5 separate regions of the Homo sapiens genome follow, and all the other regions are linked to region 5. The links are contacts of gene promoters, found by promoter capture Hi-C in human tissues and cell types (Jung and others, 2019). All regions are on one chromosome and are shown on one strand. The core of a region is centred on a gene start or on the middle of the fragment in contact, and the rest is flanking DNA. Distances in the headings are between cores, read along the strand shown. Region 1 has its middle 150 kb from the start of RFC3. Region 2 has its middle 190 kb from the start of RFC3. Region 3 has its middle 130 kb from the start of RFC3. Region 4 overlaps LOC102723406 (a long non-coding RNA gene). Region 5 holds the start of PDS5B (PDS5 cohesin associated factor B).

Evidence for each region. Contacts are between HindIII fragments. The study calls those that stand out against the background at their distance.
Region 1: a fragment that was not itself captured here is called in contact with the fragment with the promoter of PDS5B in region 5 in 1 of the 25 tissues and cell types used here (heart left ventricle).
Region 2: a fragment that was not itself captured here is called in contact with the fragment with the promoter of PDS5B in region 5 in 1 of the 25 tissues and cell types used here (dorsolateral prefrontal cortex).
Region 3: a contact is called between a fragment that was not itself captured here and the fragment with the promoter of PDS5B in region 5, in 1 of the 25 tissues and cell types used here (lymphoblastoid cells).
Region 4: a contact is called between a fragment that was not itself captured here and the fragment with the promoter of PDS5B in region 5, in 1 of the 25 tissues and cell types used here (dorsolateral prefrontal cortex).

Annotation. Positions count from the first base shown.
Region 1 is chr13:33,667,891-33,670,590 of GRCh38, reverse strand. It overlaps a transcript of STARD13 not described here. Among named protein-coding and RNA genes, the nearest start is that of RFC3, 150 kb to the left of the region's middle. The HindIII fragment of the contact is 5,783 bases long and covers 1-2,700 here.
Region 2 is chr13:33,626,737-33,629,436 of GRCh38, reverse strand. It overlaps a transcript of STARD13 not described here. Among named protein-coding and RNA genes, the nearest start is that of RFC3, 190 kb to the left of the region's middle. The HindIII fragment of the contact is 4,338 bases long and covers 1-2,700 here.
Region 3 is chr13:33,687,231-33,689,930 of GRCh38, reverse strand. No RefSeq gene overlaps it. Among named protein-coding and RNA genes, the nearest start is that of RFC3, 130 kb to the left of the region's middle. The HindIII fragment of the contact is 3,562 bases long and covers 1-2,700 here.
Region 4 is chr13:33,606,093-33,608,792 of GRCh38, reverse strand. It overlaps LOC102723406 (a long non-coding RNA gene), which reads right to left. Exons shown (of 6, transcript XR_007063750.1): 4 at 1,917-2,055. It also overlaps a transcript of STARD13 not described here. Among named protein-coding and RNA genes, the nearest start is that of RFC3, 210 kb to the left of the region's middle. The HindIII fragment of the contact is 5,256 bases long and covers 1-2,700 here.
Region 5 is chr13:32,585,113-32,587,812 of GRCh38, reverse strand. PDS5B (PDS5 cohesin associated factor B) reads right to left here and starts at 1,361. Exons shown (of 35, transcript NM_015032.4): 1 at 1,220-1,361. It overlaps PDS5B-DT (PDS5B divergent transcript), which reads left to right and starts at 1,368. Exons shown (of 3, transcript XR_001749808.1): 1 at 1,368-1,436; 2 at 1,891-2,009; 3 at 2,244-2,700. RefSeq lists an enhancer at 257-316 and silencers at 547-796, 1,217-1,296, 1,307-1,676. The HindIII fragment of the contact is 11,896 bases long and covers 1-2,700 here.

The DNA.
Region 1 (2,700 bases), core at 1-2,500, 1.1 Mb before region 5:
AACAGATCTTAACAGGTTGGAATAATGAGCTCAAGCTACCTAGACCTAAGTAACTGTGACAAATATAAGATTATTTATTTTGGTTCATAATCATAAGTGCACAAGCCCTCATTGGAAGAATTTGTACTTGTGAAATAAGACTTTAGGATTTTAGTTGATAGTAAATTCCATATGTTATAGACAAAAAAATGCAACGCGATCTTTGGTGACATTCTCCAATTATGTTCGTTCAATGAGTTATTAATCTGCCTAGTTGCATTAGCGCTGCCCATATTCTTAATCTTGTCTGCAATGATACCATGAAGGATTTTCAAAATGTCCCACTGAAGTTCAATGTGATATTTGGTGACATTATTAGAAACACAGAGGAAGAATATAAGATACTTGGCATACTATATGCCAAGCCCTGTGCAAGTCACAGCCTGTATCGTAGTCTCATCCCCCTGTGGCTTTCCTTGCTTGTGAATACATATGTAATCCTTGAGCTACCCTCAGGATCCTGCAGCCCAAATGATCAGCCAATCCAGAAGGTGATTCCAACACTTCCCACTCCAAAAGTTCTATTTATTTAAATGTTACTCAGGCATTTGTGGGTAAATATGGAGAAGGTGGTAGTAGTTGGCCTACCAGGGCAGGAACAATCTTCAAATCTGCACAAGTGTAAAGAATAATGATTAGATTTTGTAACAAAGTACATTTGGACAGATAGGGCTCTTAAGGGACATACAAGAGTAGGATAAGAAGAACATCCTCTTCTGGCCGGGTGTGGTGGCTCACGCCTGTAATCCCAGCACTTTGGGAGGCCAAAGTGGGTGGATCACGAGGTCAGGAGTTCAAGATCAGCCTAGCCAAAATGATGAAACCCAGTCTCTATTAAAAATACAAAAGTTAGCCGGGTGCGGTGGCAGGTGCCTGTAATCCCAGCTACTCGGGAGGCTGAGGCAGGAGAATTGCTTGAACCCAGGCGGCAGAGGTTGCAGTGAGCTGAGATCACACCACTGCACTCCAGTCTGGGTGACAGAGTGAGATTCTGTCTCAAAAAAAAAAAAAAAAAAAAAAAGAACATCCTCTTCTTATCATAGCAGTTAGTGAGCATGGGTAAGATTCCAGATGGAGGTGAGCAAGCGGTGGAAGTCCCAAAGGACCACTGGCGATGGTGTGCCACACACCAGTGAACCCAGGCATGAGAGGCTGGAGAAAGCATGAGCATACTCTGATAAGGTTTAAAGACTCAGGAGGGGATGAAAATCAGAGAAGCCGGCCTCTTCTGTCTGTCCTGGACAGAACTACATTTATCTACTTAGTAGAGGTTTCTGCATTCCTTTTTTATTTGTTTCTATGAGGGTCATTTCCTGTGTCTGTGTTCCTTTACACCCATCTGCTTCTGCGGATTATAGGCTGAAGGCTGAGTCTTTAGTCCTATTCTGCAAGCCATTCTCAGTAGGATGTGCTTTCCATTGCTCTTAACTTGGTGCAACAGAAAATAAGGCAATACATGGCTGTGACTTAGAGCACAAGTTTACATTGTGATCCAGGACCTGCCACTTGCCAGTTTTGGGAAATGCATTTAACTTTTCTCTGTCCATTTTCCCATGGGTAAAAGTAGAGGTAATATTAGTATTACCTGTCAGGGTTGTTAAGACAATTAAATAAAACAATATGTGGTAAACTACTTAGCACAGCTGGACCATTCAATGAAAATTTTAATTGCTATTTTTGCTGTTTTTAGTTAGCCTCTATGCCAGCTTTCTTCACTCCCTGAAGCTGAGCAAACACCAATGTAAAATAGCATGTGATCTTCAGGGCTAGATGCAATTATGAGGACTAGCCAACCATCCCTGTAACAAAAGGTAGGACCCAGTCAGCTTTAACAAAATAGGGCCTTCAGAAGGAAGGTGAAGAACTAGCGGTGAGCATCATCTTTCACTCATCTTCTCACTCAGGGTTCCAGGAAACACGTTCTCTTTAGTCTCCATCTGTAATCTACTACCTTGGGCATAGAGACTACCTCTTGGGCACATGGGAGCACAGTCCTATTCCTGTTCTGTCACTACTATACAGGCAGAAACTCTTCTTTTCTTGGAATTTTAAGTGAATACTATCATAAGCCCCCCTGTCCTAGCAATCCAGTTTGACCAATTGTCAACTCATAGCCACCCTCACCCATACTCTCCCACAATGCCCACCACCAGGTTGCTGGTGAAGTGAAACTAAGACATCATCATTTCATTTATTCAAATATTCAAGTTTGCATGTCTAATAAAAGACCTAGGACTTGGTTTTAGCAGTTCGATTTTTCCTAGAGGTCCATTTTTGAACAGATATTTGCCATTTTTTAATAGATATTTGAAACAATTAGGTAGGTGCAAAGTGTTTCAGTTCAACAACTGATAAAAGAAAAACTTCAGCCGAATTAAATTTAGAACAGTTTCATTGAGCAATGAATGATCCCCGAATTGGGCAGCCTCTTGAACGAGAGTAGGCTCAGAGACTCCAGCGCAGCCACATGGTGGAAGAAAATCTATGGACAGAAAAAGGAAAGTGATGTAAAGAAAATGGAAGTGAAGGACAGAAACAACCGGATTGTTTATAGCTCAGTGTCTCCTTATTTGAACAGGGTTCAAACAGTTGGCTACATTTGATTGGCCAAAACTCAGTGACAGGCACAAGTGTAGGCTATGGCCCGTGTCTGTTTACACC
Region 2 (2,700 bases), core at 114-2,613, 1.0 Mb before region 5:
AGACATATGGCTGGCAGCATTGTATTCACTTCTAAACAAGACAACACATAAGCTCTTGGCAATTTTCTTATAAGTTTAAATGGAGACACACTTTAGAGCCCTCTTCCAGGACAGTCTAAGTAATAGTGTCCAGTAATTTCCAGTTAAAGTGTTATTTGTTGATTTGCTAATGAGCTGACATTATTGTTGTCTTACCAATGAAGTATAGTTAAAAGTGAAATCAGGACTTCTAAATGTAATATCTGCTTTCCTATGGCGTTTGGCCCGTGGAGTTGGGGTAGCCTCATGTAGAGGAGGAGTTGAACTGGGGACCTGGCCTACAACCCAAGACATACAAGAAGTAGAGCTGTCTCTTTATGCAGCTACCACCCAGGCCTCTGCCTTCACAGACAATCAAGCTCAACATAGCTAAGAAGCTGCTGGCGACCCTCTTTTGAAAAGATCCCACAGTAATCGTAATCACATAACTGCCATCTGCTATTGATCATTGGCACTGAGCAAATAGCATCTCATGTAACCCTCGCTACCATCATAGCTATTTCCATTTCCAGTTGACAGAGAATGAAACTCAGGGTTGGAACTCTGGTGAAGAGTGATGCAACTTTCCTAAGATCAAAAGGCAGTAGGAGACTGATCTGGGATTTGAATGCAGGTCTATCTGATTGAAAAGTCTCTGTTCATCCCCTACAATGCGGTGCCTCCCTGGGGCAGATGAATGCTCAGCCACGTCAGTCATTCCCATCTGCTGTGCCACGGAGGTTCAGGTGCCTGTTAGAGTGAAAGAAAGAGTGTATCAGGTGTACCTTCTTCTTAGCCTTCCTACTTCAGTCCTTCAAAGAGATTTGATTTCTCTAAGGTGTCTCTTGTTTATACAGAATGGATTGAGTTTTGTCACATTCAATTCTGATTATGTGAGATTCCTGCTGAGTGAAGCCAAAGCTAGTTACTTTAATGCCTATTAGAATAGGTTCCTTACAATGTAATTCTGAGAAAAAGAAGGACCCATTCTGACTCGTACACATACCTGAACTTGAATTTTGATGTTGGTCACAAGAGTTCTTTCTGATGTGGAGGGAACAAACATGACTGGATGAAAAGTGACCAGGCTTGTTATTAATACTAATGAATAAATTAATTAGTACCAGGTACAGAGCAGAAAGAATAGAGACAGGGGCATCCCTAGTTCAATTTCTGGGATAAATAAAAGAAAAACATTAGAAGTATATGTGTCCATGATGCATGTGGTGTGTGTGTGTGTGTGTGTGTGTGTGTGTGTGTGTGTGTGTGTTTTACAAGAGAGAGAGTCCAGGAATGAAAAAAGATATATTTATCCCAACTCATTACCTTGTTCAACCAAAAGATGACTGTCTTAGAAATAGCCTAAAATTAGGTTGCAGTGAGTCGAGATCGTGCCACTGCACTCCAGCCTGGCAACAGAGCGAGACTCCGTCTCAAAAAAAAAAAAAAGAAAGAAAAAAAAGAAATAGCCTAAAATTACGCAAAGTAAATCTAGGCTGATTTACACTATAGTGGTGGGACTTTCTCCAATAGCTTCGATGTTCATCTCACTATTGTGGTTGCTGTACGTCAGAAAAGGCAGGAGCCCCACGGTGCAGCCCTGGAGGATGGGCCATAAATGACACATGTACATAAATTAAGGGCTAGGCCAATGGGCAGGCTTGGGTGCTCACATTCAGAAAGGACCACTGAGGCCTCTCCACCTTTTGGACCATGTCCAGGGCCATGAAGGACAATCTCAACCTATCTTGAGGCAGAAAAGAACATTTTTTTTTTTTTTTTGAGATGGAGTCTTGCTCTGTCACCCAGGCTAGAATGCAGTGACACGGTCTCAGCTCACTGCAACCTCCACCTCCCAGGTTCGAGTGATTCTCCTGGCTCAGCCTCCTGAGTAGCTGGACTTACAGGTGCCCGCCACCGCACTCGGCCAATTTTTGTATTTTTAGTAGAGACGGGGTTTCACCATCTTGGCCAGGCTGGTCTTGAACTCCTGACCTCGTGATCCACCCACCTCAGCCTCCCGAAGTGCTGGGATTACAGACGTGAGCCACCATACCCAGCCAAGGACATAATACATATGTTATAGCATAGATGTACCTATCTACAAGTGGAGAAACTAATCCTACCTGGATGTTGAAGACAGTTACCTTACAATACAGCACTATGCTACACACATAGTAACTACTTACATAATGTTTGCTAATGAAAGAATAGATAAATACCCTTTATATCATTCAAAATATCACTAATTCTGCTACTTGGGAAAGTCAATGCCAAGCTAACACTGTCTAGATTTAAGCAGAAAATATACAATAAAATATTAGTGTTTGTGATTAAAAGCTGGTTTAATGATCTGAAAATGATAAAGGGAACAATGATTGATGAAGTTTGAAGCAGGTTTATTCTATTTCCCTTTATCAGAACCAATTTTGTAACTATACTATTCTAAGTTTTATGGATTCTTTAGTCCTGATGGCCAGAATTTTTATTTTATTTTATTTTTTTGCTAGTGCAGGACAAATCTTGTCATTTACAAATAGGCAAACATGTAATCAAAAGTGTAGACTTCTCAACATGGACCCACAGACAGGTGGGCCTCCACATTCCAGATTTGTTATTCTGAATTTGGGATGTGTGCTGGATTAATTCATACTCTTTCTTACAGTAATGACAATGCTCAGC
Region 3 (2,700 bases), core at 76-2,575, 1.1 Mb before region 5:
TTCCTGAGCCACTGAGGACAGGAATTTTTTTTTCCTAGAAAATAAGCAAACCTGAGTGTGTGTGTAACTGGATTTTTTTTCTTCTCTTAGCTGGAAGGTGTCATGTTTAATGAGTGGCTTTAACCGTTTTTTGCACCCAAATCCACACCTTCATGTCTGTACCTTGAGGCCTCCAAGGAAACAATAATATGGCAGAAAATACCAGGATGGCAATAATGTATCAGATCAGGGATAGGATTCTTTTTCTTATGAAGTCAGGTGAATTGGTTCTCTCTGAAAGGAAAGCCTTCAAAATGTGCGAGGGAAATACAAGGGATTTCAGAAAAATCTGTTGAATTTTTAATAATCTTTCAAATCCCTCTGAGCAGGGAACAACGTTACTTTGCATCCACAAGGACAGCAACTGCAATCTTTCCAGGCCCTAAAATGTTATAGTCAGAACCTTCACTCTGGGCCAGAAGGCCTCTGCAAAACTTCCAGAAGAAAAATCAAAAGTAATTTTAAAAACCTTCAGAGTAAACTATAACATCTACATCTCCACACAGACTGAGTTTCTGATCATGAAAACAAACACTATTCCACTGTTGACTTCATTTTGGAATCATCAGATTGTTATCTTAACAATAAACAGTTTCAACTAAACCATCTCTTATTCAGATTTTTGAAACAGCCAGTGCAAAAAAGGACACACTCTCTCTACACATGACAAATATATCTTTCTTAGACTTTAAAAGGAATTTCTTCAAATTGTTTGCAATTAAATACTGTTCAGAACAATACAAGAAACTCTGACAGGGTTCTAGAAATACTGAAAATCAAAATAGCAAGAGTGAACCTCTTTGATCTAGGGATTCTACAATTAAAGTTTCTTGAACTATACAAGATTTATAAGCACTGTTATCAAACATGGCAACAGGTAGAATTTGATCAGAGAAAGCCATACAGATACATCTAGATTTGTAAAATCCAAGGACGAAGGCTTTAATCGGGTGCTGCAGCCATGGAGATGGGAGCTCAGTCTCAAATCCATCTCCCCTGACGGACTAAAACTAGGGATTTATATAGAAAGGAAAGGATGTAACAATGTGTAAGAAAATAGGAGGGGCAAGGAAGCAACAATGATAAATGAGGGGTCAGACTTGAGAGGCCTGACCTGGTGAGTTTTAGTTCTTTGGCACTTTTTCTGAGAGACCTGAAGGTTGTTTCCTGAGGTAGGAACTCAGATGAAACAAATGTAAGTTTCAAGCTTTAAGACTAGGGGTCAATTTGCAATTAAATATTGTATGTTTATCAAACAAACGAACAAAAACAAACCTATCTATGGCAATGGTCCCCAACCTTTTTGGTGCCAGGGACTAGTTTCATGGAAAACAATTTTTCCATGGTCCAGGGGTGGAGTGGGGGGTTTGTGGGGTGGATGGTTTCAGGATGAAACTGTTCAACCTCAGATCCTCAGGCATTAGATTCTCAAAAGGAGCACACAACCTAGATCCCTCGTATGCGCATTTCACAGTAGGATTTGCACTTGTATGAGAATCTAATGCTGCTGCTGATCTGACAGGAGGTGGATTTCAGGTGGTAACACTTGCCCACCCACAGCTCTCCACCTCCTTTGTGGCCTGGGTCCTAACAGGCCACCAACCCCTGATCTATAAGATTATCGGGTCAATTTCAAGAAGACACTCCAAGTGTTCAACTTCCAGTGCAGCTCATGGCATCTTCAGAGGGAGCTTTTTCAGGGTCATCACTCTGGAGAGATAAAGGAGTGAGCAATCTGGCTTTTCTGTGTCTGGTGTGTCTTGGACTTTAATAGGGAAGATTAAACTTTTTAGAAACAACTATATCTCTCCTAGCTGCAAATAACCTTGAGAGCTCTCTTGAGAGAAAGGATCTCAGCCTTTACTGAGGAGAGATGTTCATTGGAAATGTCAGCGATGTTTTCATGTTTCAGCTATAGGTTTAGTTGTAGTTACACTTAGTTCTACTAGCTTAACATCCATGGTAAAAGTTCTAAGTGGCGAATATTATTTCTCCTTGCCCTGAAGACTGGGTCCCATAGGAGGAGGGTGGACAGGCTTCCAAATTCCTTTCCCATCCTGCACCCTCCTTGGTGCCCCCCTGTATCCCTTCCATCTTGGAGCACTCTTGCTTTGTCTTCTTAGCCCCCAACTTTGCTGGTCAGATGTCCTAAGACCCGCACTTGGCAATCTTGTCTTATCTCTATACCCACTCCTTGAAAAAATGTATCCCATGGCTCTGCAATTTAGCAGCTCCTAGATTCCCAGCCTCAGATCCCATCCCTACTCTTCTCAACACAACAGTGTGGCTAAGTGGAGGGCCCTGCAGTCATACTGTCTGGGTTCAAAACTCCATCCATCAACTTGCAGACTGTGTGACTTGTACAAGTGACTTAGCCTGTCTATGGGCCTCAGTGTCCTCATCAGTAAAATGGTGAGGCTGATAGTGCTTGAGGTTATTTCGAGGAATGTGTGTGTTAAATGCATGGAAAACACTTGGAATAGCACTGGGCATATCAGATGTGCTCAGGAATGTTAGTGGCTATGGCTGCTACTGCTGCTGCTACAATTTAAGACATCTACCTGAATGTCTTGCATGCACCTTGAAACCAGTATTTCTTAATGCAATTGTGAGCCAGGTAGATAATACATTGTGTCATTTAACCCGCACAACAGCTCTCAA
Region 4 (2,700 bases), core at 103-2,602, 1.0 Mb before region 5:
TCATCCTTTTTTTAGTTCTATGAAGATTTCTCCATGCTTCACTCTAAGACTTTCTTTTTTTTAATTTCAATCTTTAAGCCTGAATCTGGGAATGTGAATTTGTATATCATGAAATAGGGATTTAACTTTTTCATGTATGTAATGAACTGTTCTACACTATCTGTTGAAGAGTCTACCTTATCACCACTGAATTATGATACTACCTGTCATATTGTTTCCCTATTTTGTGTGCTGATTTCTATGTTTGCTCATTGATTTACTTTTCTATCTCTGAATCAGTTCTATACTTTTAAAATTACTAAATTTTATAAAGTCTTATGGATTTTTCCCCTATTTTTCCCTCTTCCTATTTTTCTTTCTTCTAGATTTTCTTGGCACTTGTTGGCCATTTACTCTTTCATAATATTTCAGAATCAGCTTGTCCAGATCCCTAAAAATGCCTATTGAGACTATGAGTGCAATTATATTAAATGTATTAAGTAATTTTGGGAGAATGGACATCTTTATGATATTTAGTCTTTCCATTGTGAAAGCAATGCATCTCTCAATAAGTTCTTCTTGCATGTCTTTTAAAAATGTTTTCATGGGCTGGGCACAGTGGCTTGCACCTGTAATCCCAGTACTTTGGGAGGCCAAGGCAGAAAGATAACTTGAGGCCTGGAGTTCCAGACCAGTCTGAGCAACATAGTGAGACCCCATCTCTACAAAAAATAAGAAAAAAAGGGCATGGTGGCACATGCCTGTAGTCCCAGCTATTCCAAAGCCTGAGGTGGGAGGATCGCTTGAGCCCAGGAGTTTGAGGCTGCCAAAGGCTAGGATTGTGCCATTGTACTCCAGCCTGGGTAACAAAGTGAGACTCTATCTCTAAAAAACGGTTTCTTTAGAGATATTGGACATTTTCATTACTTTTTTTTCTGGGCAGCTTTTAGATTTTATTATTAACATAAATTGTGTCTTTCAAAATTATGTCATCTGATTATTTGTTGCTTAGTTATTGTAATGCAAATAATATTTTATATTATATCTTGTATCTAAATACAATCCAACATTTTTTATTTGTTCTAATAGTTTGCATAAATTCTAGGATTAACTGTGTGGACGATAATATCAAGAATGAATTTTTTTTCTTCCTTTCTAATCAGTTTAACTTTTTAACCTCTCCTGCCTCCAATTTGCACCATCAGAAAAGAAACAATGGGCCAGGCGTGGTGGCTCACACCTGTAATCCCAGCACTTTGGGAGGCTGAGGCAGGCGGATCACCAGGTCAGGAGATCCAGACCATCCTGGCTAAGACAGTGAAACCTCATCTCTACTAAAAATACAAAAAATTAGCCAGGTGTGGTGGCACGCACCTGTAGTCCCAGATACTTGGAGGCTGAGGCAGGAGAATCATTTGAACCCAGGAGGCGGAGGTTGCAGTGAGCTGAGATTGCGCCACTGCACTCCAGCCTGGGTGATAGAGCGAGGTTCTGTCTCAAAAAAAAAAAAAAAAGAAACAATGATAGCTGACAAACTAACTCACTCGTAATCTTAAACACCATGTTTTTGTTTTATTTTTGTTATTATTTTTATTATTAGTGCATTGTGTAACTTCAGTGCTTTAAAATTAAAAATCAAAATCAACCAAAAATTTCACATATATTGGGACACTTAAAAATGTATAAATCAGTTGCGGTAGGCAAAAAAAAAAAAACAAAACTGTCCCCCAAGTATCCACTTTGTAATCCCTGGGAACTGTGAAATGCTAGGTCACGTGACAAAAGGAATGAAGGTAGCAGATGAATTAAGGCTGCTAATGAGCTGACCTTAAACAAAGAGATTAACCCGGATTATCCAGGTGCACCCAGTGTAAATGAAAGGGTCCTAAAGTGCCTGGGAGAGAGGCAGAAGAAGCGGTCTGAAAGATGCAGCATACCAGGGAGTGCAGAGGGCCTCGAGAAGCTTGAAAGGTTAAGGAAGAGAATTCTCCCCGGAGCCTCCAGAAAGGAGCGCAGCTCTGCCATCGCCTGGATTTCAGCCCAATAACACCAGTGTTAGACTTTTGATCTGTAGAACTATAAGACATTTGTGTTATTTTAAGCCACTACATTTGTGGTAATTTCTTTACAGCAGCAAAAGAAAACTAATACACCAGTGGAAATTAAAAACTACATAAAATAATAATGTTACATATCAAAGCTTTTGAGATTCTGTTAAGGCAGTAATTATAGAAAGTAGACAGCCTTAAAATGCCCATACTGAAAAAAATTTCAGATAATAAAGTATACAACCCAAGAAGTTAGATTAATAGCAGAGTAAATGCAAAAAATGGAAGAAAAATCATTAAAGGAAAAGCAGAAATTAATGCGATAGTGAAAATAAAGCTAATATTTTAAGAACTTATAATATCCTGAGAAATATTCTACATGTTTTACACATATTAACCCTTTTCTTTCTTACAATAACCTTATATATAGGTATTATTATTGCATTTTTTCTTTTTTTCTTTTTGAGATGGAGTTTTGCTCTTGTTGCCCAGGCTGGAGTGCAATGGTGCGATCTTGGCTCACTGCAACCTCCACCTCCGGAGTCCAAGCAGTTCTCCTGTCTCAGCCTCCTGAGTAGCTAGGATTACAGATACCTGCCACTACACCCAGCTAATTTTTGTTATTTTTAGTAGAGATGGGGTTTCACCATGTTGGCCAGGCTGGTTTTGAACT
Region 5 (2,700 bases), core at 112-2,611:
AGGATCAGTCTGGGCACCACTGCCCATCCATCACCTCTTATTAAAAGTACGAGAAGCACTTTCTTCGACATAAAAAAGGGTTAACCCTCGCTGGGGGAGAGAGGCTGTTGAAGACGCGCGTGGAGTGGGTGGGTAGCTGCTCTACCAACCCTTCCCGGAGCTCGCCCCGTCCGCGGCAAGGAACGCAGCAGCCTGCAGCTCCGAAGGCGAGGGGCGGCGTTTCTGGTTTCAGTCATTCGTCCAAAATAACTGTCGAGCTACTTAAGAGTTAGCTTTCACGTCTCTACCAAAAACCAACAGCAGTAGCAGCAACAACAACAAACAAGGTTTTTCTCCGGACCGAAAACTTTTAAAGTAACATTAAAATAACAGTGTAAAAACAATAACGAGTCACAATTGCACACCATTTTCCCCGCCGTTCCTTCTGAAAGGAAAGCTAGAACCCAGTTGTGGCCTGGGAGGAGTCCCTCCACGCCAGTGCTGGGCTCTTCCTCAACTGGCTGCTCGGGGACCACTCGGGGTGGCGCGGTGAGCGCGATTTCCCTCCGGCGAGCGGCGAGGGACAGTGCAAAAATGTCACGCTCAGCCCGTCCCCTGGCCCGAAGCGGAGGCCAGGCGGCGCGCGGGGACCCGGCGGCGGGGGCGAGAGCGCCCGCGGCCCCGACCCGCGGTCCCCGCCCGCCCCTCGCCCGGAAGGGGGAGAAGCCCGCCCGCGGGAGGATTCAACAGGAGCACCGCGCCGCCCGCCTGCCGCCCGGGAAACAGCCGCCGGCCGGCCGGGGCGCGGGGGGAGGGGCGCGGCGGCGGCGACGGCGGCGGCGGGAGGGCGCGGGCGGCCGGGCGGCCCCGAGACCCCCGCCCGCGCGCAAGGTCACCGCCCGCCGCCGCCGCCGCCCCGGCCGGGATCAGAGCGGCAAGTTTAATTTTCCAGAGGCTGCGGCAGAACCCGCGGCGTGGAGGCGCGCGCCGGCCGCGGGGCCCTCCCCACCCCCACCGCGCAGCCGGCCCGCGCCCCGCGACCCCCGCCCCGGGCCACCGCCAGGCAGCCACCCGCTGCAGCCCCCGATGCCGGGAGGCGAGTCGCGCCTGGCACCCAGGCGGGCGGCGCTTCAGCCCTGCCACACACACGCACACAGCGGCAGTGGCGGCCGCTGAAAAATGGAGCGCCGCAGCCAGAGAAGAGAGACATTTTCTTTCCGTTAACTGAATTGTTTCCTACCTCCGGGTTGCCGACTCGCTACTCCGCTCACTCCGGGGCTCTCCGGGATCCGCCGCCGCCGCCGCATCCAATCGCCTTCTCCCCCCCCCTCCCCTTCCGCAGCCAGCCCTGCCGTTCCTCCTCCTCTCCGCTTCAAAATGGCGCCAAGCGCTCTTCGGCGGCTGCTCCAATCGAACCGCCGCGGACAGCACCCGGGGGCAGGCAGAGCGCGGCATGGGTGCGCAGCGCCCCCTGCCGACCAGACGGCCCCGAGCGCGTCCGCCCTCCGAGCTCCACCCCGCCCCGTCCGCGCGCGCGCACGTCCCTCCTCAGCCCCGCCCCGTCCGCGCGCACGCAACCACACGGGCACGCCGCCGCGGGGCCCGCGAGAAGGGCAGCTGTCAAGGCGTCCACTACTCTTGCGGCTTCCTAGACCTCTACCGACAAAAACCACACCGATTGTTACGTAGCCCTATCTTTTTAGATAAAGGTTGGGAGATTTTTTTAAACCCTGACATTCAGCACAGGTGTTGTGATGGGTAAACAGAATTGGTATTATTAACTACTTTGCTCCTTACTTGTTAACTCTGACCTAGTCGTCTCGGAATGCCATACAAATAGTTTTCCTACACTTTACGTGTTATGTCTTTATTAAATCTCCCCGCTTTCCTAATTTGAGGAATTGTTTATAGGTGGTAGGCTGGCGGAGACAGAGTAATTGAGCCTGTGACGAAGCATTCCATTCCTTTGGCAGAATTGTCCTTATTAGAGGAAGAAATCATCTGGAGACCACAGGGACACATTCCAGGAGGTGGGTCTCCTCCCCTCTTCACCTCTAAGGGATGCCAGTCCCTCCTGCAGCTGTAGAGTGGGTTTAGCCTGGTCACCACAGCAGATCACCTACCTTGCGGGAAGGTTTCCTCCCCAGCCGGGTCCCTGCCAGAGCTGAAGAAGGGACTTCCTCCTCTTTTTACTTTAATACCATCCCTGCTGTAAGGAAGTTTCCCCTGATATGATGTATTTGGTTACTAGAATTTTGTTCCAGGGAGAATTTGTTTCAACAATGAACAAGCAAAGTGTGAATGAATGGATTACAGTAGGATACTTATCAACTGAAACAAAAGAGAGGTAATGCTGATATATAAACTAATGCTACTGTGTTAGAAAAGGTATGTACATCGGTATTCCATCGGACCCGGGCACCTAGAGATACTGAGACCTCTTCATTTCCATTTTTGTGGGATTCGCTGGACAATTCCGCCTCAGTCTCCTCCAGTGCTTGCTAGACCAATATGTTGTGTTACTGTATTCCTGTGTCCAAGATTTTGCCACTGAATACTCCAGGTTCTACCCATTTTATACATTCCTCGATGAAGTCTACTATGAGTTTTTTCTGCCCTCTTTTTAAAATTATCTCAGGAATTTTCTTATTTTACATCGTTGTTCCATCAACATAAATCTTGTATGGGAGAGTAGGATGTCTAGATCTAGAAAAACCTTTC